Linked DNA regions of Homo sapiens: regions 1 and 3 are each linked to region 2. The links are contacts of gene promoters, found by promoter capture Hi-C in human tissues and cell types (Jung and others, 2019). All regions are on one chromosome and are shown on one strand. The core of a region is centred on a gene start or on the middle of the fragment in contact, and the rest is flanking DNA. Distances in the headings are between cores, read along the strand shown.

Evidence for each region. Contacts are between HindIII fragments. The study calls those that stand out against the background at their distance.
Region 1: a fragment that was not itself captured here is called in contact with the fragment with the promoter of AMH in region 2 in 1 of the 25 tissues and cell types used here (dorsolateral prefrontal cortex).
Region 3: the fragment with the promoter of SGTA here is called in contact with the fragment with the promoter of AMH in region 2 in 1 of the 25 tissues and cell types used here (IMR-90 fibroblasts).

The regions. Positions count from the first base shown.
Region 1 is chr19:1,606,066-1,608,838 of GRCh38, forward strand. No RefSeq gene overlaps it. Among named protein-coding and RNA genes, the nearest start is that of UQCR11, 2.0 kb to the left of the region's middle. RefSeq lists enhancers at 353-974, 2,457-2,506, 2,537-2,606. The HindIII fragment of the contact is 3,073 bases long and covers 1-2,773 here.
Region 2 is chr19:2,247,825-2,250,572 of GRCh38, forward strand. AMH (anti-Mullerian hormone) reads left to right here and starts at 1,499. Exons shown (of 5, transcript NM_000479.5): 1 at 1,499-1,920; 2 at 2,513-2,655. The coding sequence starts at 1,509. SF3A2 (splicing factor 3a subunit 2) reads left to right here. Exons shown (of 9, transcript NM_007165.5): 9 at 1-831. The coding sequence ends at 722. RefSeq lists promoters at 1-1,508, 1-1,477, 1,229-1,508, 1,299-1,508, 1,477-1,508 and an enhancer at 1,442-1,581. The HindIII fragment of the contact is 11,600 bases long and covers 1-2,748 here.
Region 3 is chr19:2,781,980-2,784,679 of GRCh38, forward strand. SGTA (small glutamine rich tetratricopeptide repeat co-chaperone alpha) reads right to left here and starts at 1,294. Exons shown (of 12, transcript NM_003021.4): 1 at 1,254-1,294. RefSeq lists enhancers at 60-159, 1,656-1,725 and a silencer at 1,216-1,265. The HindIII fragment of the contact is 32,124 bases long and covers 1-2,700 here.

The sequences.
Region 1 (2,773 bases), core at 43-2,542, 640 kb before region 2:
CAGGCTCGCTTGGGCTCGCCTTTCTCCAGTCCCTGCTTCCTCTGCTCTCCCACAACCCGGCGCAGCACCGTACATGCTCACTCAGCTCCCAGCTTCCAGCCTCCCCCCTGCACACCGGGCCGGTGTGGGCAGAAGGAAGAGGGGCATATTCCCAGACACCGCCATTGCACTTTTGTGCCTTTTCCCCCATATTCAAGAGTTGCCTCCCTCAGGAAGCCCTCCTGGACTGCCTGACCCACAGGCACCTTTACAGCATGAACGGAAAGGCCATAGCCTAGACGGGGCACTGGGCGTGATTTGTCTCTCGGGCGCCAGCGTCACTTGCAGGCCTCGTGATAAGGAATGGACACCGTGGGTTCTTCTGCCCAGCCTGGCCTGTCCTCCTGGGGTCAGCCCCTCAGTACACCCCAAGCCTGCAGCTCTCTGGGGACTGCGGGTGCTAACCCATCCCTATCCCTGGTTAAGGACTCAGGGTGGGAGCCGGAAATAGGTTTTGGACACCACAGTCTGGGCACTGTTTTTCTTTCTTTTTTTTTTTGAGACGGAGTCTCGCTCTGTGGCCCAGGCTGGAGTGCAATGACACGATCTCGGCTCACTGCAACCTCCGCTTCCCGGGTTCAAGCTTCTCCTGCCTCAGCCTCCCAAGTAGCTGGGACTACAGGCGTGAGCCACCACACCTGGCTAGTTTTTGTATTTTTAGTAGAGATGGGGTTTGGCCATGTTGGCCAGGCTTGTCTTGAATTCCTGACCTCAAGTGATCCGCCTCCCAAAATGCTGGGATTACAGGTGTAAGCCACCGGGCCCGGCCCTGGGCATTGTTTGTAGAACTTTCCAGTTGGCTTGGGGTTTTTGAGCTTGGGATCAGAGAGCACCTGAATAAGACTCTTCCCATTGGTGGAAACTTAAAAAAGTGGGATGCAGGGGCTGACACAGAGACTATTAAGAGAAAGGACAGGAACACAAGGGCTGCTGGAATGTCAGCCCAGAGTTTCCAGATGCCACAATGTAAGAGTTCACCAGTGGCCGGGCACGGTGGCTCACGCCTATAATCCCAGCACTTTGGGAGGTTGAGGCGGGCAGATCACCTGAGACTGGGAGTTCGAGACCAGCGTGACCAACATGGAGAAACCCCATCTCTACTAAAAATACAAAATTAACCGGACATGGTGACGGATGCCTGTAATTCCAGCTACTCGGGAGGCTGAGGCAGGAAAATTGCTTGAAAACCCGGGAGGCAGAGGTTGCGGTGAGCCGAGATCACGCCATTGCACTGCAGCCTGGGCAACAAGAGTGAAACTCCGTCTCAAAACAAACAGACAAAAAAAAGAGTTCATCAGAGACAGTGACATAAACAAGAGCTGAGAGATGGAGAGAGATTTGTAATGACACCTGGATCCAGCTGTGCCTGAAGCCATTCAACATGACATAGAACTTCCTTTTTGTTTCTTGAGCCGGTTTTTGTTATTTTGTTGGACCATCTGGATGTCCCCTCCACCCTTTTTTTTTGAAACGGAGTCTTGCTGTCGCCCAGGCTGCAGGCTGGAGTGTAGTGGTATGATCTTGGCTCACTGCAAGCTCCGCCTCCCAGGTTCACGCCATTCTCCTGCCTCAGCCTACCGAGTAGCTGGGACTACAGGTGCCCGCCACCACGCCTGGCTAATTTTTTGTATTTTTAGTAGAGATGGGGTTTCACCGTTAGCCAGGATGGTCTCGATCTCCTGACCTCGTGATCCGCCCGCCTTGGCCTCCCAAAGTGCTGGGATTACAGGCATGAGCCACTGCACCTGGCCCACCCTTTTTTTTTGACAGGTTCTGGCTCTGTTGCCCAGGCTGGAGTGCAGTGGTGCAATCACAGTTCACTGCCACCTCAAGCGATCCTCCCACCTGAACCTCCTAAGTAGCTGGGACTACAAGTGTGTGTCACCAGGTACAACCAATTTAATTTTGATTTTTTGAGACAGTCTCGCTCTGTCGCCCAGGCTAGAGTGCAGTGGTGCAATCTCAGCTCACTGCAATCCCTGCCTCCTGGGTTCAAGCTATTCTCCTGCCTCAGCCTCCCAAATAGCTGGGATTACAGGCTTGCGCCACCATGCCCGGCTAATTTTTGTATTTTTAGTAGAGATGGGATTTCGCCATGTTGGCCAGGCCGGTCTCGAACTCCTGACCTCAAGTGATCCACCCGCCACAGCCTCCCAAAGTGCTGGGATGACAGGCGTTAGCCACCGCGCCCGGCCAATGTATATTTTAAAAGTTGTTTTCCAGCATGAATTTAGAGGCCAGCTGGGTAGAGTGGTGGACAGGGCTCCCTCAGCACCTTCTGTCAACTCCTGGCCACTCTCTTTCCCTTAAAAATTATAGACATGGGGTCTCACTATGTTGCCCAGGCTGGACTGGAACTCCTGGCCTCAGGCGATCCTCCCGCCTCAGCCACCTGAAGTGCTGGGATTACAGATATGAGTCACTGTGCTGAGCCTTCTCCTCCCTAAGGCACTTGTGTGCCAAAGGGCTCTCTCCTGGGGGCCACCCCCCGTCAAGTGGCCAGGAAGGCACTCCTTCCACCCCAACCCTGTAGGGGAGCAGGGCAGTCCAGCTGTGTCCTCGCAGAGATGCAGCGGCCAAGTCCCTGGGCACAGCAGCAGATGCCTGCCAGTGGGCACTTTGGGATGAGCAGCGCCCCCACAGGTCCTGCCACACCCCTTCCCCCCGAGAGCTCTGTCCGTGGGTTCCGTGGGCATCCGGTTGTGGAGGAAGTCACAGATGCCGCACTAAGGAG
Region 2 (2,748 bases), core at 249-2,748:
CTGGCCCCCCTGGGGTGAAGCGGCCTCCACCCCCGCTGATGAACGGTCTGCCCCCTCGGCCACCGCTGCCTGAGTCTTTGCCACCGCCCCCGCCAGGAGGCCTGCCTCTGCCACCCATGCCCCCCACAGGGCCTGCGCCCTCAGGGCCCCCGGGACCACCCCAGCTACCCCCGCCAGCTCCAGGGGTCCACCCCCCGGCCCCAGTGGTGCATCCCCCTGCATCTGGGGTCCATCCCCCAGCTCCTGGCGTCCACCCCCCAGCTCCTGGCGTCCATCCCCCAGCCCCTGGGGTCCACCCACCAACCTCTGGGGTCCACCCCCCAGCTCCTGGAGTCCACCCTCCAGCCCCCGGGGTTCACCCACCAGCCCCCGGAGTCCACCCACCAGCCCCTGGGGTTCACCCACCAGCCCCAGGGGTCCATCCTCCCCCATCAGCGGGGGTTCACCCCCAGGCCCCGGGGGTGCACCCAGCAGCCCCCGCCGTTCACCCTCAGGCCCCAGGGGTGCACCCACCAGCCCCAGGGATGCACCCTCAGGCCCCGGGGGTCCACCCCCAACCTCCCGGGGTCCATCCGTCGGCTCCTGGGGTCCACCCTCAGCCTCCGGGAGTTCACCCCTCAAATCCTGGGGTGCACCCCCCAACTCCCATGCCCCCAATGCTGAGGCCCCCACTTCCCTCCGAAGGCCCAGGGAACATACCTCCCCCTCCCCCAACCAACTGAGAAGCTGCTCCCTCCCCCAGCAAGCCCAGCGCCAGGTGCTCTTGCCTTTTCCCACTGAGAGAAGGCTGCTCTTTTGTACTGCCCCCCGCTCATTAAACAGCCTCCCCCAGCCCTGAGTGCACTGATGTCCGCAGCGCCGCCCTACTGTGTCAGTGTGTGTGGGAGTGCCAGGCACAGCACCATCCCCCAGTTTGGGCCGACTGGGGAGGGCCTGGGGCCCGCCAGGAGACACCTGTGGGAGGCCTGAGAGATGGCTGTACCTTGGAGATGGCCTGGTGGAGGACAGACCCCACCAGCCAGCTAGGAGGGGATCTGGGGTCCTGTTCTGGGGAGGGAAGAGCAGACTCCACGATATCCTTGGGGTCTCCAGATAGCCCACCAGGGGTGGGGAGGGTGAGCAGGGACAGGGCGCCCCCACTGACTTGGGACCCTCCTCCTCCAGGCCCACACCTCAGCACCCAGGACATCTGGGCCCCCCGCCCCCAGCGCTGTCTAGTTTGGTTGCCTGGCCGTCACTCCCAGCCTGGTTCCCACTCCTGTGTCTTCTGGGGATGGCCCTCAAGGACGGCATGTTGACACATCAGGCCCAGCTCTATCACTGGGGAGGGAGATAGGCTGCCAGGGACAGAAAGGGCTCTTTGAGAAGGCCACTCTGCCTGGAGTGGGGGCGCCGGGCACTGTCCCCCAAGGTCGCGGCAGAGGAGATAGGGGTCTGTCCTGCACAAACACCCCACCTTCCACTCGGCTCACTTAAGGCAGGCAGCCCAGCCCCTGGCAGCACCCACGATGCGGGACCTGCCTCTCACCAGCCTGGCCCTAGTGCTGTCTGCCCTGGGGGCTCTGCTGGGGACTGAGGCCCTCAGAGCAGAGGAGCCAGCTGTGGGCACCAGTGGCCTCATCTTCCGAGAAGACTTGGACTGGCCTCCAGGCAGCCCACAAGAGCCTCTGTGCCTGGTGGCACTGGGCGGGGACAGCAATGGCAGCAGCTCCCCCCTGCGGGTGGTGGGGGCTCTAAGCGCCTATGAGCAGGCCTTCCTGGGGGCCGTGCAGAGGGCCCGCTGGGGCCCCCGAGACCTGGCCACCTTCGGGGTCTGCAACACCGGTGACAGGCAGGCTGCCTTGCCCTCTCTACGGCGGCTGGGGGCCTGGCTGCGGGACCCTGGGGGGCAGCGCCTGGTGGTCCTACACCTGGAGGAAGGTATGTGGGGCCCAGCCCCAAGCTTGGCACCGCCGTCTTCCTTCAGGTGGGCCGGGTCCTCCTAGGGAAGATCAGGGGCTGGCAGAGCCCCCACCCTGGGCAGGGAGGCTGTGGTCTTGTTCCTAGGACTGGGTTGCGGGTCCGTGGCCTGGAAGGTGGGCACCACACTCTGTCCTGTCCCCGAAGCCCAGCTCTTAGACTTGCCCCTGCCTCGGTGCCAGGGAGAGAGCTGCTGCCTTCTCCCCACCCCTGAAGACGACGCAGGGCTCGGGGCCAGTGGAACCCTTCTTCCCACAGCCCCAGCCTGTTCTCAGGGCCGCTGGCCTAAGATACTCCCTGCGGGGAAGGGGCTTCATCGGGCACCCCAACCCAGAGACCCCAGGGCGGCAGCCCCACCCACAGCCTCAGACGCAGCCCCTGCCTGCCCCTGCCGTCACCGCTCCCTGGCTGCAGGAAGGCAGCTAAGAGGGGCACCCTTGTCCCCCGCTTGAGGTCCCCTGCACAGTGGCCAGAGCGGCAGGGACAGATCCCAAAGATTCCCGGGGGGTGTGGCCTTCAATGGCTCAGGCGTCCCCTGCTGTCCCGGCTGCAGTGACCTGGGAGCCAACACCCTCGCTGAGGTTCCAGGAGCCCCCGCCTGGAGGAGCTGGCCCCCCAGAGCTGGCGCTGCTGGTGCTGTACCCTGGGCCTGGCCCTGAGGTCACTGTGACGAGGGCTGGGCTGCCGGGTGCCCAGGTACCAGGGAGTTGCATGGGGCAGTGCCCGGGCCGTGGCGGGGGGCATGGATTTGTTGCAGGGTCTGCAGTACTGAGAACAGCGTAGAACCAG
Region 3 (2,700 bases), core at 44-2,543, 530 kb after region 2:
TACAGGTGCACACCACCATGCCCAGCTAATTTTCATATTTTCAGTAGAGACGGGGTTTCACCACGTTGGCTAGGCTGGTCTTGAACTCCTGACCTCAGGTCATCAGCCCGTATGGTAGGGTTTTTAAAGCATTATTGACATTTAAAGCTGGATCATTTTCTGGGGTGAGGCCGTCCTGGGTACTGCAGGGTGCCGAGCAGCAACCCTGGCCTCCACCAACTCCAAACCAGGGGGTCCCCCAAATCATGACAAGCACAAATGTCACCAAGAATCCCTGGGGCACAGAATTGTTCCTGGTTGAGAACCACTGGTCAAGGGAGGGAAAAGGCAGACAAAAGGAATAATCAGAGACAGAAACAAAAGAAAATGGGACAATCATTCAACCTCTGAAGGGCACACTACACTGCAATTTTCTGGCACCTAATAACAAAAACAGCTATTCTCAAGCCAGCTCTCTCTTATCAAGTTCCAGGCACCTGATCAAATAATTGAATGTGGGTTTATCCTCATAATGACCCTCCGAGGCATCTGCTTTTACAACTCGTTTGCGAAAGAAGGAACAGTTTGCTCAGAGAGGGAAGGCGACTCACCCAGGTTTACACAGCGGGTGGGAGGTGGTGGTGGACGGTCCTGAATCCCAGATTTCCCCCACCTCTAGCACGATATGCAGAAGAAGACTCTAAACATGATATAAGACGAACGCCTGCTAATTCTTTGGAGTTCTCAGATTCCGCTGGACCCTGCGGCTCTCCTTCTCCTAGGCAGGGACTTTTGAACAACGCCCGTTTTACAGAGGGGAAAACTGAGGCTCCGAGAAGCCAAGAGGCTGGGCAAGGTCACCCAGGTAGGGACTGGCGGCGCTGGAACCAGAGTTCCGACTTCAGTCCCCACAAACGGGGGTCCCTGAGTCACAGGGACGACGTTTCCAGGCGGTTAATAAGAGCGGAACGGCAGCGAACACCCAGCGAGCGCTCACTACATGCGGGGCGCCTTCCCCTCCCGCCGTCCTCGCCACCAGGCCGCGGACCAGCATTTCCAGGACCTGGGGCCTGGGGAAGGGAGATCAGGGCTCGAAGGGCCTGCCCGATGGCGCCCGGCCTCAGTTTCCCCTCCGCACCGCCTACTCACAGGACCCCGCGGGTCGCGGTGACCCTGGCCTCACGATCCCCAAACTCTTACGAGCTTTGGGGCCCCGTGGGCCCCGAGCCGCAGACCCCAGACCCACCAGGCTCAGCGCAGTGCCCCTCACTCACCTCTCAGGCGACCGATCCCCGACCCACCGACGGTTGCGCTTGCGCACCGCGGTGCCGCCCGGCCCCGGCCCCAGGGCGCGACGCCTGCGCAAAAGAAAGGCGCCCGGAGTTGCTTCCCTTCTGCACAGGCGCGTTAATGATGGAGGCGGGCGTGGAAGGAAGTGACGCAACGTAGAGGCGGGAACCAGCTGGTTGTTAGGGCAACTGACCTCTGCGACCTAATGGAGGCCGGAAATCGGGTCTGGTTTGCCCTCTAGAGCGGGAATGAAGCGGTGCACGGTGGAACAGTGGCTGACTCCAGCCGGTCGCCGAGCTGACCACGTGGTGCTGGGCCGGCCACGTGGTGCAGCCGCGTTTGGACACCTGGACTCCAGAGCGTCACAGCTGCGCAATGAATGGGAGTCAGTGTTACCCGCTTACTATCTTTGTTCATTTATTCACCCACCCATCTACTCACCCACAAATGCATTCTTTCATGCAGTGTGAGACGTTTGTGAGTATAGAGCCATTTGTAGACAGCAGGTGCCTAATATTCATTCAATATTTATTGCAAAGCAGCCATAAAAACCAGCAAAGTGTCTACTCTCATTATTTTGCATTGGGGTAGACGGACTATAAACTAATAAACTAGTACATAAATAGAGAAACAAATTTCACAGCAAACACTAAGAAAAAAAAAATGAAGGTAGTGTGATTGTCACTGGGAGCTAAGTCGCATGGGATGGGTAGGAAAGATCATCCTTTACATTTGGATTTCAAGGATAGGAAAGTCCAAACGGACCCCAGGCACAGGGAACAGCGAAAATGAACGCCGATGTAAAATTAATCTTGGTGTTGCTCAAGACATGTGATGAGACATTTCCAAGGACGACAGAAAACTGATCACCATCTAAGTTACAGTTGCCAGAAATGTTCTCCCAATTCATTTTCGTCCTACTCAAAATACATGCACGATTAATGGCGTGGATTATTTTAATTTCTTTTGCAGAAATAAAGGAGGTGAGGCCGGCCGTGGTGGCTCACGCCTGTAATCCCAGCACTTTGGGAGGCCAGGGGGCAGATCACTTGATGTCAGGAGTTCGAGACCAGCCTGGCCAACACGGTGAAACCCTGTATCTACTAAAAATGCAAAAATTAGCCGGGCGTGGTGCGGGCATTTGTAGTCCCAGCTACTCGGGACGCTGAGACAGGAGAATCGCTTGAACCCGAGAGGCAGAGGTTGCAGCGAGCCGAGATCGCGCCATTGCACTCCAGCCTGGGCGACTGAGCGAGACTCCCTCCAGCCCCTCCAAAGCAAAAGAAAACAAAACAAAAACAAAAAAAGGGAAGAAAGGAGGTCGGTTGTTTTGGTTTTTGCCAGTTTAATTGTAGTACATTGTTTTTTCTGGGTGCCCTAACAGTTCAAGACAGATGGTTCAAGATGTTTTTTGTTTTAACCCACAACACT